Regions from separate parts of the Homo sapiens genome. Here regions 2, 3, 4, 5 and 6 are each linked to region 1. Evidence: promoter capture Hi-C in 16 types of primary human blood cells and fetal thymus (Javierre and others, 2016). All regions are on one chromosome and are shown on one strand. The core of a region is centred on a gene start or on the middle of the fragment in contact, and the rest is flanking DNA. Distances in the headings are between cores, read along the strand shown. Region 1 holds the start of SANBR (SANT and BTB domain regulator of CSR). Region 2 overlaps USP34 (ubiquitin specific peptidase 34). Region 3 overlaps PAPOLG (poly(A) polymerase gamma). Region 4 has its middle 48 kb from the start of PAPOLG. Region 5 overlaps USP34 (ubiquitin specific peptidase 34). Region 6 overlaps XPO1 (exportin 1).

Region 1 (2,700 bases), core at 113-2,612:
AAAAAGTTTTTCTGTTGACTTTCTCTTTATACAACTGTACTAGGCAAGGGAAGACCCCCCAGCATTAATTCTAGTTAAATGAATGTCCAAGAAATCAGAGTCTGAATTTAAGTATAAAAGGCATAGCATTGATGGATAATCCTTAATAAAACATAAATTATCTCGAAATAGCTGTTATAGTGCACCTCATTCAGGAAAGTATAAATTTATCAAAAACGGTGACAAGAAAAAGCTCAAAGTTCAAATTACTATGAAATCCACTCCCATTCATAAAATATCAAAATCTTGACAATATTTAAGGTAAAATACGTTATTTACCAAAAATAAAAATCCAATATGTTTAACAGACTTCATTTTTTAAGAACATACTTCCCCTCCCCTCCCCGACCCCCTTCTCTTGGTTTATGTATTTAATATACATGTATTAATTAAGAAGACTAGTCTAAGTCACTTCCACACCAGATAGAGGTCTACAACAGGAATCTGATATATTTTTTTCTTATTTCAAATAGAAAAAAAAGCTCTTGGAGACAGAGACGTTTTCCCTTAGCCAGTGGAAAGATGGGAAGAGAGGGGGCCCCGTGGGGCAGGCAGGCAGGCAGGTCAAAGGCCTCTGGCCTAACAGAGGGCGGCGGTAACACCGAGTCATCCCGGACCGGGAAGAAGCCTTGTACCCAGGCTTCCTGACTTCTGCACACACAGGAGATCGGAGTCAGCTGGAGGAGAAAGTAAAATCACATCCCAGAACCGGCATGAGGTCAAAGCCAGTCAAACCTTGGGCCCGGAGGCTCACTACGCGGCGCGTCCTCGGGGCACCCCCAGACCTTCGCGCCCCGCTCCCGCCCGTGGAGGCACAGAAACTCCAGGGGCGCAGAGCGGACAAAGGCGCCGGGCAGCGGGAGCGAGGCGGGGCAGAGGCCCGGGGCGCGGCCGGGCGCGCAGAAGCTGGGGTTCCCGCCGCTGTGCGCGGGCGGGACGGTCTGCAGGGACATGGACCGGGCGGGTGACGGGACGCGGGCCAGCTGGCTGCTCGAGGCGCGGCCGGCTGAGGCTGTGCACGGGGGCGTTCGGGGGCGTTTGGGCAAGTGGGACCCCGCCCGGGGTGGGAAGCCGCGGCGGGAGCCGGCTGGCTGTGAGCGGTACCGCCCCATGCCGCACTTCCCGCCCCGCGGTGGGCACCCGAGCCCCCTCGGCGTCTCGCTCACCTCCACAGGGCCGCGGCTGCCCTCGCAGCGCCTCTGTTACCTGCAGTGGTCGGCACCGCCCGCGCTCGCGCCCTGAAGCTGCCGCTACCGAGCCCGCAACCCCGTCCGCAGCGCCTCACACCCCGCCCCCGCCCGCTTGCAGGCGGCTGCGGAGACTAGCGCCGAGGGGTGGGGGAGCCGCCGAGCCGACGCCGCCCGGCCAATCGCGGGCCAGCGCCGCAGCGGCGGAGCCAATGAGCGCCGAGCCCCTGCCGGGCGGGAGGGCACCGGAGGGGCGGCGGCGGCTGACTGTCGCCTTGCCTTGCCTGCTGCTTCTCCTTCCTCCTCTGGCATACACTCCCAGGCTTGTCGCAGTGCAGCGTCCCCACCCTCCCAGCGTCTTGTCTCTTAGCAACCAGATCCTAGGAGCCTGATCTTAGGTGACCAACCCTGAGTCCAGAAGAAAGGGGGATATACAGGAGATAAAAGATTAAAGAATGGATGAAATTGTTCTTGGTGCAGATCATTTGGTACACCGCTTAGGTAGAGCGGAAAGATCGCATGATGAGGGACACCGAAAGTATCTTTTAGACCAAGGTCTTTGGGTAAGGACCTGAAGTGTCTTTACCAGGAGGTAGCTCTTTAAAAATGTAAATAGCTCTGGATTACAAATTCGGTTTTCATACATTAATAGGGTGTGTGTGTGTGTGTGTGTGTGTGTGTGTGTGTGTTATTGTGAGGAACACTACTATTGGGCATCTAGTAAAATGCAAACGGCTCAATATTGTAGGGTAACTGCTACATGTCAACATTTCTATCTAATTTCCACTTGGTCTATTCTGAGAACCAAAATTAAATGTTAGGATTAGAAAGAACAGAAAAAGTAAAGCCTTAACCAAATGAATAATTACTACGAGATCTGATGATTAAGTAGAGATTAAGTGGTTCACTGTACAGAATGTCAGGAGTTTTTACCAATTGTATCATCCTGTGACTTTCTGCAGATCTTTTACGATTTTTGTTCCACAAAGACATTAAAGTGGCTGGGTGCGGTGGCTCACACCTGTAATCCCATAATCCCAGCATTTAGGGAGACCAAGACGAGAGGATTGCTTGAGCACAGCCTGAACAACAAAGTGAAACCCTGTCTCTACCAAAAAAAAAAAAAAGTTGTTTTTTTTTTAAGTTAGCTGGGCGTGGTGGCCCCAATGAGCTATGTTTGCACCACTGCACTCCAAGCTGGGCAACAGAGTGAGACCCTGTCAAAAATAAAAATAAAAATAAAGTTAGGCAAGTGTCGTATCATAAGATGTTAGGTTAAGTCAGGTAAATTCTTTTTTTATTTTTTTGAGATGGAGTCTTGCTCTGTTGCCCAGGCTGGAGTGCAGTGGCACCGTCTGGGCTCACTGCAACCTCCACCTCCCTTCAAGCGATTCTCCTACCACAGCCTCCTGAGTAACTGGGATTTACAGGCGCATGCCACCATGTCCAGCTAATTTTTTGTATTTTTAGTAGA
Region 2 (2,700 bases), core at 183-2,682, 310 kb before region 1:
CAGCAGAGAAGGAATCTGCCAAAGAGATTAGGCAGGGCCTGAGAGGAAAACCAGAGGTTTGTGGGTTTTGGACACAAAAAATGTTAATGCTTACAATGTACATTTTAAGTTACTGAGTGGTCTTTAAAAATGCTTTATGAATTTTTGTGTATTTTCTATTTCTGAATCATTTCAGGTATTTATGCAAGCTCTCGGATCAGGAGTTACGACAGAGTGCAGCTCGTAACATGGCTGACTTAATGTGGAGCACAGTCAAAGAACCATTGGATACAACATTATGCTTTGATAAAGAAAGCCTAGATCTTGCATTTAAGTACTTTATGTCACCTACTTTGACTATGAGGTTGGCTGGATTGAGTCAGATAACAGTAAGCTGTATTTGTTTTATTTTTGGTCATCGTTTATTTGTTTTCTGGTCTATCATAATACTACCCACTATTTATGGAGCACTTCATACTAGGCATTGTGCTAAGTATTTTATGTGGATTACTTTATATGGTCTTCACAAATAATTTCTGTGTTTCTCTTATTTTAAATAAGTCTGAAGCTTAGATTTATATGGATTTATACTGTGGGTCCATTTGATTTCCGGGTCCAACTCTTTCATCATTTTGTTTCTGTCTTTTTAAACTATTTAGGTTTTTATGTTTATAGATGTTTTGAGAAAGAGGAATAATTGGAGGGCTTTATAAGCAGTTAATTAATTTTCCAGGCAGAAACCATAGATTATTGGGCCGTAGGCCAAATTTTACTAAATGTTTGTTTTGAATAGTCTTAAATACTGTTTTTAAATAGGACAAAGTAACATGAAAATCTGTATTCTTGGCTTCTCTTGGTGAGGGGGTTGGAAGAAGGCCTGGTATTCTTGGGTCTGTATTCTTGCATAACAACAGTCTGTTAGAACTAAGTAATTAACTTTATCCCTCAGAATGAATATGCTTTCTCCGGTTTGTTGCAGTCCCCATTTGCTTTACTCCTTTACATTTCTGGGTTTTTGTTTTGTTTTGTTTTGTTTTTTGGTTTTTCTTGGAGATGGAGTCCCATTCTGTTGTGCAATGGCATGATCTCGGCTTACTGCAACCTCCACCTCCTGGGTTCAAGCGATGCTCTTGCCTCAGCCTCCTGAGTAGCAGGGACTACAGGTGTGCGCCACAACACCCAGCTAATTTTTTGCATTTTTAGTAGAGATGGGTTTTTACCGTGTTGGCCAGGCTGGTCTGGAATTCCTGACCTCAGGTGATCCACCCGCCTCATCCTCCCAAAGTGTTGGGATTACAGGCGTGAGCCACCCCACCTGGCCACATTACTGTTTTTGTTTTGTTTTGTTTTGGTAGTGTAGTCACACTGAAAATGTGAAATAGGTGGAGTTTACTTGTGTACCGGGTTTCATAAATATAAAAGATACTTGTTGATATTGTCCCAGATAAATTAAATCTTGAGTGGATTTATCTGGGGAGTCTTTCCTGAAACTTTGTCTATAATGACATATTACTTGCTCTCTTGCGTTAAATTGTTGTGTTTTTTTACTTACTCAGCTTTATTTTCTCCAGTGCACTTAGTGTAATAAAGAATACTATTTGTGGAATGAATTTAGTGTTGTTTTTTTTTTTTTTTTTTTTTTTTCGTTTTTTTGAGATGGACTCTCACTCTGTCGCCCAGGCTGGAGTGCAGTGGCGCGATCTTGGCTCACTGCAACCTCTGCCTCCTGGGTTCAAGTGATTTTCGTGCCTCAGCCTCTGAGTAGCTCGCGTTTTAGGCGCATGCCACCATACCCAGCTAATTTTGTATTTTTAATAGAGATGGAGATTTACTGTGTTGGTAAGGCTGGTCTCAGAGCTCCTGACCTCAGGTGATCCACCTGCCTTGGCCTCCTAAAGTGCTGGGATTACAGGTGTGAGCCGCTGCGCCTGGCCATTATTTAGTATTTTAATATAACAGAAATAGTTTTAGTAATTGGGAAGCGTGTGTCTCTGATTATGTCTTAGATTTTATAATATTAATCTAGTTATTGTGATCTACATATGTCAATCAGTTTACCATGTTAGTATTTGCTGACAAATGCAAGAATAATTTTGGAAATAAAAACCCTTAATTTCTTGTCTTTAATCATAGAATCAACTCCATACCTTCAATGATGTGTGCAATAATGAATCATTAGTATCGGACACAGAAACGTAAGTAGGAGCATTAATTTATATATAAGTATACCATTTTAATGTACAGTTGTTTATATGGTAAATTCTAATTTTTAGATTTAAAATTTTTACTAGAAATTCTTTGCCCTTTGACATTGTGTACAGTTCTTCATGAAGCTTTCAGAACATTATGCTGTCTGTAACATAACTCACTCTCCCTCTTTTTTTTGAGACAGGGTCTTGCTCTGTTGCCCAGGGTGGAGTACAGTGGTGGGACCATGGCTCACTACAGCCTCAAGTTCCCAGGGTCAGGTGATCCTCCCACCTCAGCCTCCCGGATAGCTGGGACCATAGGCGCATGCCAGCATGCCTGGCTAATTTTTGTGATATTTGCAGAGGCAGAGTTTTGCCATGTTGCTCAGTCTAGTCTTGTAGACTCAAGCCATCCACTTGCCTCAGTCTCCCAAAGTGTTGGGATTACAGGCGTGAGCCACTGTGTCTGGCCACATTTCTCTCTTTTAAAAGCGTATGCGAACATATAGTACTATTTGTCACAGTATGAAAG
Region 3 (2,823 bases), core at 108-2,607, 290 kb after region 1:
AACTGTTAAAAAGAAAAAAAATGTTACTGGCCAAGTTTAAGAAGAATATCCATAATTATCTGAAAAGGCTATTAAAACACTCCTCCCTTTTCCAACTAAGAGGACAGATTTTTTCTTTCTTTTTTGAGACGGAGACTCGCTCTGTCACCCTGGCTGGATTGTGGTGGCATGATCTCAGCTCACCACAACCTCCGCCTTCTGGGTTCAAGTGATTTTCCTGCCTCAGCCTCCCGAGTAGCTGGGATTACAGGTAAGCACCACCACACTTGGCTAGTTTTTTATTTTTAATAGAGATGGGGTTTTACCATGTTGTCCAGGCTGGTCTCAAACTCCTGACCTCAGGTGATCTGCCTGCCTTGGCCTGCCAAAGTGCTGGGATTAGAGGCATAAGCCACTGTGCCTGGCCTCTTTTTTTTTTTTTTTTTTGAGACAGGGTCTCACTCTGTCACCTAAGCTAGAGTGCAGTGGCGTAATCACGGCTCACTGCAGCCTCCACCTCGGGGGCTCAGGTGATCCTCTCACCTCAGCCTCCTGAGTAGCTGGAACTACAGGCGAGTGCCACTACATCCAACTAAATGTTTTTTATTTTTGGTAGAGATGGGGTTTCACCATGTTATCCTAGCTGGTCTGGAAACTCCTGGGCTCAAGTAATCCATTCACCTTGGCCTCCCAAAGGGCTGGGATTACAGGCGTGGGCCACCACGCCCGGCCAGATTTTATTCTTATATGTTAACCAAAACAAAATATTACAATCAATTGTAGACACAAATGAGAATCTAGCTGTCTTCTATCAGGCCTAATATTAAAGAGACTTGCAAAATGTTAAAAAAAAAAAAGAAGCCATTCTTCACACACAAAAGTTTATATTAATTTAAAATGGGTTCATTATTTATAAATGAATAAGTACTTTTTAAATTTCTCAGTTTTTATTTTTTAACATGGTAAATATTGACAGATATAACCCACATAAACAAAAGCTTTTTGGGGTCCTCCATAAATCTTAAGAGTGTAAAGAAGTCTTGAGACCAGTAAGTTTGAGAACCAGTAATATAAATATACACAGCCTTTCAAATAAATTTGTGGTTTTTAGGATTCTTAAATGTGGTCACATTATCTGTATAAGGAAAATTACATTTTAAACTGAGTCCAATCTCCAAAACTGAATAGTCAATTCAGCAAAAATATCTATATTTCTCTAATTGTTCTGAAGCAGGTATCTGAGATTTCTTTTTAGAAGCTTACCATTTAAGCTGCGAATACACCTTATATCAAGGCTTCTCAGGCGAGAGTCGTCTCTTAGATCTAAATTATCTGATATGGTTTGTATTGCCAGTCTTGCAAAGACTAGATCAATCTTTGGAAAGATGTGAAAAAAGAGAAAAAAATTACATTTTCTCCTTTTAATCCATCCTCTCCCATCCCACCAAAAAATGTGAAAAGCTCTGGTTATGAGTTTGGGAAGTTCTACCAAAGCTTCGATAGGCCTATGTAGGCAGTCTCACATGGGAAAATCACTATAAAGTTGTGTTAAGGTAATTAAACTTTCAATTAATGAAAGCATTTAAATGTTAACATATATGCCAAGCAGAAAAAAAAATCAAAGCCTTATGAGCAAATTTCTAGATAAAGATAGAAGATCCAACACACATTTACATTCACTCCCTCTTGAAACCTCACTAAAATACCACGAAAATTCAATTTTATTTTTGTGTTTAGTATTATTTTGATGTTAAAGGCAAAATTCACTAGGACAAAGAACAGAAAGTGACAAACAAAAGCTATGAAAGCTGGAAAGCAGATGGACAAGTGGTAACAGACCCAGTAGACCTAAGAAAGCAGATAAAAATGTCATATCTAGGAAATAAGGTCAGGAGGCTGTAAATAAATGCAGACAAAAATAAAAAGGAACATTTAAAGAATAAAATAGTATTCTTAGAAATTAAAAATATGGGCCAGGCGCGGTGGCTCATGCCTGTAATCCCAGCACTTTGGGAGGCCAAGGTGGGCGGATCACGAGGTCAGGAGATTGAGACCATCCTGGCTAACACGGTGAAACCCCGTCTCTACTAAAAATACAAAAAATTAGCCAGGTGTGGTGGTGTGTGCCTGGAATCCTAGCCACTCAGGAGGCTCAGGTGGAAGGATCACTTCAACCCAGGTGCTCAAAGGTGCAGTGAGCTATGATTGTGTCACTATACTCCAGCCTTGGCCATAGAGTTAGACCCCATCTCTTCATTAAAAAAAAAAAAAGAGATTACTTGATTTTTTAAAATATGCATTTATGTTAAGCCTGATTTCAGAAAACAAACTTACAAGTTTAAACAGTTCAATTGTAAAGTCAGAAAAATATTAAACACTTACTTCAATACCATCAAATTCAAATTTTATAACAGGTACAAAGGCATCTTCTACAGCCTACAAAAAAGGAAAACAATTATAACACATAGGTGTAATCCCTTCTTTATCCTTCCTAACTACCAATAATGTGAATATCTTTACTCCCGATTTGTATTTTAACCACATAGAAGTAATCCCTTCTTTATCCTTTCTAACTACCAATAATGTGAATATCTTTACTCCCGATTTGTATTTTAACTCAATAGACAAAGTGAAAATGTTTCTGGTCTTACATTCCAGGTAAGTATTTCTACTTTGTGACCTGTATTATGTAAGATACACAAAATGCCTGTTACAGTATCTAATTTATTATCCCTCTAAAAATATTCCTCAGAACTGGAAAGCAAAACTGCTATCGTCTGCAGCCATAAAAAACAGTGAGTTCATGTTCTTTGCAGGGACATGGATGAAACTGGAAGCCATCAT
Region 4 (2,700 bases), core at 156-2,655, 260 kb after region 1:
AGGCTAGGCCATTGAACTACAGAGCCTCTTAAACCCTTCATTTTTTGTCATATGAAATAAGTGTTGAGATTCCACTTTACAGATTAGTAACCTTGAACCCAAAGGTTAAGCAATTTGTCCAAGGTCTCACAGGTGGTAAGAGATGTAGCTGAGGTATCTACGTAGGTCTGTGGGCTTCAAAGTCTGCAACATTCTCCTACCCCCTACTGGTTAGACAGTGGATATATTAGTTTAAAAGTCAAAAAGTTCAGCTGGGCGCGGCAGCTCACGTCTGTAATCCTGGCACTTTGGGAGGCCGAGGCGGGCAGATCTCCTGAGGTCAGGAGTTCGAGACCAGCCTGGCCAACATGGCGAAACTCTGTCTCTATTAAAAATACAAAAATTAGTTGGGCATGGTGGCACATGCCTGTAATTCCAGCTACTCAGGAGGCTGAGACAGGAGAATCACTTGAACCTGGGAAACAGAGGTTATAGTGAGCTGAGATTGTGCCAGTGCACTCCAGCCTGGGCAACAGACCGAGACTCTGTCTCAAAAAAAAAAAAAAAAAAAAAAAAATCTACTTTCCTATTTCTCATTCTTGATATCTGCTCCCTAGAGGCAAACATTTTCATAATTTTAAGACTTTTCTCCTACTGATTACTTACAAATTTCTAAATAACTTGCATATATTATCCTAGATTTTTGTCTTAGATATTTACTACTCACTGCCACTGAAGATGAGGATTTCACTCTCACACCCTGTCCTACCTCCCTCCCCGATTCTTCCGAATATAGTTACAATTTTTGGCTAGTTCAATATTCTCTATTCTCTACTTGTAAAGACTATGTGACCATTCACAGCCAAGCCACTGATGGCAGCAGTGGCCCACCTGGAGCGGCTGCAGCAGGGAAGGTGCGGCCAGGGCTGCGTGTGCCATGGAGCCAGCAGGAGCCTGGAACAGGCGGGACCCCTGCCCACTTCTGAATTGGAAGGGCAGGAGCCTGATGTTCCTGGGTGCAGCTGCAGCCACCCAGTCACGACTGCGGACCCAGGCATCCCTAGCTTTTAGGGACCTGGGAAGCCCCTCTTCCCCGACAGGCTCGGAAGTGCCTGCTCCCGCTGCTTGGCCTTTCCCTGCTCCCGGCTCCCACTCCAGGGTAGAGCAAAGTTGGAGCCGAGCTTGGGTGCTGTCACGACCCGGCCAGGTGTGTGTGCGCCCGGAGTGGCGCCGACACACCAGCCCCCTGCTGCCTAAGCCCCTCCGGACTTTGGGCACCGAGGAGCACAGGATGGGGGCCAAGGGGGTACTGACGGTGGCTCCACGTGGGCCTGCAGGTGCCCCTTGGTAGGAACAGCCTGGGCACCTGCCTGCCTCAGCCTCCCACAGTGCTGGGATTACAGGTGTGAGCCACTGTGCCCGGCACAGACAACGTGTCTTAATGGCCTCAGGAAGTTTTGTTTGCCTTCTTGCATCTTAGTTCCTTCATTGGGCTTCTCTTTAAGATAATCCTATTTAAATTTAAAAACAAAACAATCCTACCCCTCAAACCAAACAAGGACTCATGTGTTTTCCTCTTAAATATTTTCTGGGTATTCACTACATAAAGATTTTTGGATAAAGCTCACTTTCTTTTTTTTTTTTTTTTTTTTTTTTAAGACATGGAATCTCACTCTATCACCCAGGGTGGAGTGGAGTGGCGTGATCATAGCTCACTGCGGCCTTGACCTGCTGGGCTCCAGCAGTCTGTCCACCTCAGCCTCTTGAGTAGCTGGGACTACAGGTGAGCACCACCACACTGGGCTAATTTTATTTGTAGAGACACTATGTTGGCCAGGCTGGTCTTCAGCTCCTGGCTTCAAGCGATCCTCCTTCCTTGGTCTCCCAAAGTGCTGGGATTACGGGCATGAGCCACTGTGCTTGGCCGGAGGTCACTATTCTCAAACCTACAATCTTGTCAGGGGAAACAGGTAAACTGAGCATTACACAAGTCAGAATAATTTAAACGTTCAAACGTACAAGTAACATACTGAAAAGGTAAGAGTCTGGCTAGGGTATCATGGAAGTCTCTATGCAGCAGTAAGCCAAAAATGTCAATAATCAAAGATTGGCAAGGAAGGCCCTGAAGTATATATTTTTAAACACTATCCATTAAAACAGTTTGGTTGGATCATATGGTTTGAAAGATGGTTTTTAGGATAGGGGATTAAAAAGCAGTACATTATTTTATTTTTATTTTTTGAGATGGAGTCTCACTCTGTCTCCCCCAGGCTGGAGTGCAGTTGTGCGATCTTGGCTCACTGCAGCCTCTGCCTCCCGGGTTCAAGTGATTCTCCTGTCTCAGCCTCTCAAGTAGCAGGGATTACAGGTGCATGCCACTACCACCTGGCTAATTTTTGTATTTTTAGTAGAGACGGAGTTTCACCATGTTGGCCAGGCTGATCTTGAACTCCTGACCTCAGGCCATCCACCCGCCTCAGCCTCCCAAAGTGCTGGGATTACAGGAGTGAGCCACCATGCCTGGCCCAATATATTTTTCTTTATTTTTTGAGACAGGATCTCACTCTGTTGCCCAGGCGGGAGTGCAGTGGCATGATCTCGGCTCACAGCAACTCTGCCTCACAGGCTCAAGCAATTCTGCCTCAGCCTCCTGAGTAGCTGGGATTACAGGTGCATGCCACTACCACCTGGCTAATTTTTGTATTTTTAGTAGAGACGGGA
Region 5 (2,713 bases), core at 180-2,679, 290 kb before region 1:
GTGTAGTGTATTGTTCATTTCAGTTGTTGTACCTTTCATTTCCATAATTTCTTTTTGGTTCCTTTTTATAATTTCTGTCCCTTTGCTGATATTCTCATTTTGTTCATGCATTGTTTTCCTGTCTTTACTCTTACTATCTTTGAGATAAAGTTTTTTAAAATCTTTGTCTAGTGGCTGAGTGGTGAGTCACACCTGTAATCCTAGCACTTTGGGAGGCCGAGGCAGGTGGATCACTTGAGGTCAGAAGTTTAAGACCAGCCTGGCCAACATGGCGAAACCCTGTCTTCACTAAAAATACAAAAAAAACCCAACTAAACAAAAAAAACAAAAACAAAAACAAAACTAGCTGGGTGTGGTGGCACACACCTGTGGTCCCAGCTACTTGGGAGGCTGAGGCATGAGAATCACTTGAACCTGGGAGGCACACGTGGCAGTGAGCTGAGATCGCACCACTGCACTCCAGCCTGGGTGACAGAGCAAGACTGTCTCAAAAAAAAAAAAAAAAACATTCGTCTAGGAAGTGCAACAGGTGGACTTCAGGTATATTTTCTGTGGACTTTTTGTTCTTTCCTTTTTTGTTTTGTTCCGCAAAAAAAAAGTACAACTCTAAGACCTCTAGTAATCATTTCAGATGGTTTGTGTTGAAACAATGGCAGCCAGCCTCTGTGCCTGTACCTCACCAGTCAGAATTAGCAATCAGCTAGCTGTCGGAACAGAGAATCTTGATGTTCAGGGACGTGGTCCTTACTGCCCACCTGTCTCCAGAAGCTGTACCAGAAACCTGTATTGTTGTCTCCGTAGCTGCCTGTCATTGCATGGGCAGGTTGGGAGTGTGCGTGTCAGAAATGGGTAGCAGTAGCAGCTATGGCATTGGAGGCTGAAATTGTTAAGTGTAGAAGTTCAGATTGACTCTAGAGTTTCAGGATACTTACATCTGATTCGGCTAGTACATTTTTTGTCTTGGTATAGTAATGGATTCCTGGCGTTTTCTGTTCTCCCATCTTCCCTGATATCCTTTTCTTTTTCGTCTTCATCGTCTTTGTTTTCATCGTCTTTGTCCTCTTCGTCATCTTTGTTTCTTCATCCTCCTTGTCCTCCTCCTCTTTGTCCTCTTCCTCCTCCTCTGCTGCTGCCACCACCACGCATTCTTAATAATATTTTTTGTGTACTGTGGAATTAAATAATGTACACATTTGAAAGAGTGGGTTTTTTTTTTTTTTAATCTCAGTTACAGGATTTTATGATTTTTTTTCTCAAGGGTCTTGTTACTTAAAAATAAGCTCAGTGGCTCATTCCTGTAATTTCAGCACTTTGCGAGGCTGAGGCAAGAGGATCACTTGAGCTTAGGCGTTTTAAAATTAGACTGGGCAATATCATGAGACTTCATCTGTATAAAACAAAACAAAAATAACCAAGTGGCAGATTAATACCCTAGAAACCCCAACAAGGTTTCAATAATATACTTAATTATCAAAATTAAGTATATTATGGAAATTTCATTATATTAATGGTTAAATTGGCAGAAAATTGGAAGTTTATTATGTATTACATATAGTGTATAGTTTAGTATATACATATACTATATATATAAACATGTATATATGTGTTTTTATCATATTTTAAGTAGAAAAACCATGTAAGAGTTACTTGTTGGCAAAAAGTAGAGAAAACTGTTAGTACAAATTGAGAATTCCTAATCCAAAACTCTAAAATTTGAACTGCTACAAAGTTTGAGATCTGAGTGCCAACATGGTGCTCAAAGAAGTACTCATTGGAACATTTAAGATTTTGGATTATTGAATTAGAGATCTTCAACTGGTAAGTATATAATGCAGATACTCCAAAGTGTGGAAAAATCCAAAACCTGAAACACTTCTGCTTCCAAGCATTTCAGATAGGGGATACTTAACTTGCATATTTTAATCTGTAATGTTATTTAATACTATATTTAAATTAACATTCTTAGTCAAGACCTGTAAAAGTGGTAAACTTACTGAGTATTCACTTGTCCTTAAAATCAAATACTGTTTGTAGTATTGAAGTACTGCCATTGTTTTTTAAATGGATACTTAGTGGTGTTAAAGTAAATAGCAGTAGAAGCAGATAGTGTAATTTATAAGAAGCCTCACCAAGATAGAAGAATTCCTGCAGTATTATGTTTTCTTACATGTATTTCACCTTATATTTCAGTATTAGGTTGTGCATATTTACCCTGAAAGAGAAGCAGCAGAAGAGAATTCATATGTGTATGCCTACAAAATATAAAAATCAGTATTTTTGAGTAAAATCTATATTTTAATAGATTTTTTTATGTATTAAAAGTAGGAAACTTTGCATTTGACAGCCCTCAAATTGGGAATTACTTGTCTAATCTTCTGTTTATTACCCTATCTTGATTTAGTAGTTAGCAGCTTCATGGCTGTAAAATACTTTTATTTTACATGACATAATATTTAGTGTTTATATCTTCATAAATATTGTCCCTCATGAATTTACATGTTTGTGTTTATTATAACAAAGAAGTCTTTGTATCTCATGGTTTATTATTTTATAGATCTTTATAAGGGTTTCTGTTGTGTACTCCAGTAAAATAAAAGCATTATATAAATACTTTATAAAGATTTAATAACAAATCTGGCACACCTGTGATAATTTACTTTTTTCTCCTAAGCGTAATTTATTGTCTTATTTGTATTTTAATTTACTATTTAAC
Region 6 (2,700 bases), core at 65-2,564, 420 kb before region 1:
CTGGGATTATAGGTGTGAGCCACCTCGCCTGGCCATTATGATGGATAATTCTTTTTTTTTTTTTGAGACGGAGTCTTGCTCTTTCGCCCAGGCTGGAGTGCAGTGGTGCGATCTCGGCTCACTGCAAACTCCATCTCTAGCGTTCACGCCGTTCTCCTGCCTCAACCTCCCGAGTAGGTGGGACTACAGGCGGCTGCCACCACGCCTGGCTATTTTTTTTGTATTTTTAGTAGAGACGGGGTTTCACCGTGTTATCCAGGATGGTCCCGATCTCCTGAACTCATCATCCGCCCGCCTCGGCCTCTCAGAGTGCTGGGATTACAGGCGTGAGCCACTGTTCCCAGCCGTGGATAATTCTTATATGATAAATGGAATTTGCTTTTTTTCCTCCAAGAATGTGGATATACTGAAAGATCCTGAAACAGTCAAGCAGCTTGGTAGCATTTTGAAAACAAATGTGAGAGCCTGCAAAGCTGTTGGACACCCCTTTGTAATTCAGCTTGGAAGAATTTATTTAGATATGCTTAATGTATACAAGTGCCTCAGTGAAAATATTTCTGCAGCTATCCAAGCTAATGGTAGGTGATTCTGATTTCTTACACAATGCAGTATAAACAAACCACTTCTCTTCTACTGCCTTAAGTCAAACATTTGATGTTTTTTACAGATTTAAATCAGACCTCCCATTTCCCAAATGACCCTAGACATATTTAAAACAGTTAAGTGTACCTTTCCCTTTTAAAATTAGTCTTAAAGCTTATTTTCCCAATAAATTTTGTGAACTTTTGGCTTTAAACTTTTTAATGGTAAAATGGAATTGCATCTAATGTACACCTGAGTACCACTGTATAAGTTTAGTGGTAAAATTAGATTCCATTTGATTCTGTTTTGTAGGTGAAATGGTTACAAAGCAACCATTGATTAGAAGTATGCGAACTGTAAAAAGGGAAACTTTAAAGTTAATATCTGGTTGGGTGAGCCGATCCAATGATCCACAGATGGTAAGTGAGAGATGCTTTGCTTTTGATTTCTAGTGTTGATGCTGTGTTTTATGGAATATGCTATACTCTATTATGTGCATTTTGCTAATTTAAAGCATATCAACTTTGTGGTTATTTTATGGCATTTTATTTATTGTAGTCCTTACGTTAATATACTAATAGCTGTATTCCATCTTCAAAAGAAACTGCTGTTAATCAGTAGCGAAGGGTGGTGATATGTAACAAGATAGCTAAGAAAATTGGGTCATTTTATGTTTCCATAGATAGGTTAGGAGGATTTAATTAATGGAGTACCGGTGCAGTTTTTGCATTCCTCTTGATTTTTAGAACAATTGCTAGAGCTACAAAGTTGTCATTACTTTACCTCTTTAGCAAAGTGATTGCTTCCCAGATTAAAGGCCTGAAAGTCTTTTTTACACCCTTTTTCCTAAATGATTTGCAGAAAAGGAAATCATTTTCAGTAATAAAAACCAGCTGCGTATGCCTCAACTTGTAAAATTGTGAATTAGTTTTAGGTTTTAACTGTATCGTTTCATTCTTGTTATTCAATTGAGCCTTGGGAGAGTCCAAAAAATTCTAATACTACTATTACTTGGAATAGTGTTGGTTTTTTGTTTTTTGGTTTTTTTTTTTACAAGTGTGCTAGTTATTTTCATAGTTTTGAAATTTCAGTATTGTTTCTTGTTAAGGAAATACTTTTCAGTAAACTTGTTCTGAATATAATTCTTGTGGAATACTTAAGTTGGCTAACCTAAATATCGAAAGGTTCTGAACATGCGTATTATGTGAACAGAACTGTATTTAAAATTTGAAAGCAGAAAGTAAGATGTATTGAAGGAATTGTGATGTTTGTAATTTACAAGAAGCTTGAGCACGTGTCGGGAGCACAGTGGGAATAATACAAAGGGTATCATCTTTTGTAACATTAATGTTAAAGTTTGGGATATTTGTTCACATGAAACATTGTGTTTATTTTCCTTGTCTTGGCTTTTCACGGTGGCTCATGCCTGTAATCCCAGCACTTTGGGAGGCCGAGGCGGGTGGATCACTTGAAGTCAGGAGGCTGAGGCAGGAGAATCACTTGAACCCCAGAGGTGGAGGTGACAGTGAGCCAAGATTGCGCCATTGCACCCCAGTCTGGGCCACAAGTGGGAAACTTCGTCTCAAAAAAAAAAAAAGAACAAGAAGTTACTCTTTAAGTATAACTCAGTTTACTTAGAATCATGAAAATCTTACTGGGCATTGTAGCATGCACCTGTAATCCCAACCACCAGGGAGGGTAAGGCAGGCGAATCACCCCAGCTCAAGTCCAGTTTAGGCAACATGGCAAGATTCAGTTTCAAAAAAATAATAGAAATCCATAGTCTTTCTTATTTTCTGAGAGTAATTGATTGATGTTATTTCTGCTTGTGAAAATACTCACCAGTTAGCATTCATTAGATTAAAACATTAGTCTGAGTTGGGTGGATCACGAGGTCAGGAAATCAAGACCATCCTGGCTAACACGGTGAAACACCCCGTCTCTACTAAAAATATAAAAAATTAGCTGGGCGTGGTGGCAGGTGCCTGTACTCCCAGCTACTCGATAGGCTGAGGCAGGAGAATGGCGTGAACCTGGAGGCGGAGCTTGCAGTGAGCCAAGATGGCACCACTGCACTCCAGCCTGGGCGACAGAGCAAGACTCCGTCTCAAAAATAAA

Evidence for each region. Contacts are between HindIII fragments. The CHiCAGO score rates a contact against its expected background, and 5 or more counts as called.
Region 2: a contact is called between a fragment that was not itself captured here and the fragment with the promoter of SANBR in region 1, in 2 of 17 cell types (M2 macrophages and M1 macrophages). The highest score is 6.7, in M2 macrophages.
Region 3: a contact is called between a fragment that was not itself captured here and the fragment with the promoter of SANBR in region 1, in 10 of 17 cell types (activated CD4 T cells, naive CD4 T cells, total B cells and 7 more). The highest score is 8.2, in activated CD4 T cells.
Region 4: a contact is called between a fragment that was not itself captured here and the fragment with the promoter of SANBR in region 1, in 1 of 17 cell types (naive B cells). The highest score is 5.3, in naive B cells.
Region 5: a contact is called between a fragment that was not itself captured here and the fragment with the promoter of SANBR in region 1, in 1 of 17 cell types (M2 macrophages). The highest score is 5.3, in M2 macrophages.
Region 6: a contact is called between a fragment that was not itself captured here and the fragment with the promoter of SANBR in region 1, in 2 of 17 cell types (M2 macrophages and non-activated CD4 T cells). The highest score is 7.8, in M2 macrophages.

The regions. Positions count from the first base shown.
Region 1 is chr2:61,064,533-61,067,232 of GRCh38, reverse strand. It overlaps SANBR (SANT and BTB domain regulator of CSR), which reads right to left and starts at 1,362. Exons shown (of 22, transcript NM_001129993.3): 1 at 1,206-1,362. RefSeq lists silencers at 763-822, 833-1,182, 1,213-1,582 and enhancers at 472-971, 972-1,473. The HindIII fragment of the contact is 4,406 bases long and covers 1-2,700 here.
Region 2 is chr2:61,377,837-61,380,536 of GRCh38, reverse strand. USP34 (ubiquitin specific peptidase 34) reads left to right here. Exons shown (of 80, transcript NM_014709.4): 7 at 176-368; 8 at 2,113-2,174. Among named protein-coding and RNA genes, the nearest start is that of SNORA70B, 38 kb to the left of the region's middle. The HindIII fragment of the contact is 1,765 bases long and covers 550-2,314 here.
Region 3 is chr2:60,770,050-60,772,872 of GRCh38, reverse strand. PAPOLG (poly(A) polymerase gamma) reads right to left here. Exons shown (of 22, transcript NM_022894.4): 6 at 2,362-2,415; 7 at 1,243-1,354. Among named protein-coding and RNA genes, the nearest start is that of PAPOLG, 15 kb to the right of the region's middle. The HindIII fragment of the contact is 236 bases long and covers 1,240-1,475 here.
Region 4 is chr2:60,803,066-60,805,765 of GRCh38, reverse strand. No RefSeq gene overlaps it. Among named protein-coding and RNA genes, the nearest start is that of PAPOLG, 48 kb to the right of the region's middle. The HindIII fragment of the contact is 5,100 bases long and covers 1-2,700 here.
Region 5 is chr2:61,351,188-61,353,900 of GRCh38, reverse strand. The region is part of intron 10 of USP34 (ubiquitin specific peptidase 34); the gene reads left to right. Among named protein-coding and RNA genes, the nearest start is that of SNORA70B, 65 kb to the left of the region's middle. The HindIII fragment of the contact is 4,932 bases long and covers 1-2,713 here.
Region 6 is chr2:61,486,466-61,489,165 of GRCh38, reverse strand. It overlaps XPO1 (exportin 1), which reads left to right. Exons shown (of 25, transcript NM_003400.4): 18 at 395-578; 19 at 895-1,001. Among named protein-coding and RNA genes, the nearest start is that of USP34-DT, 17 kb to the right of the region's middle. The HindIII fragment of the contact is 1,111 bases long and covers 759-1,869 here.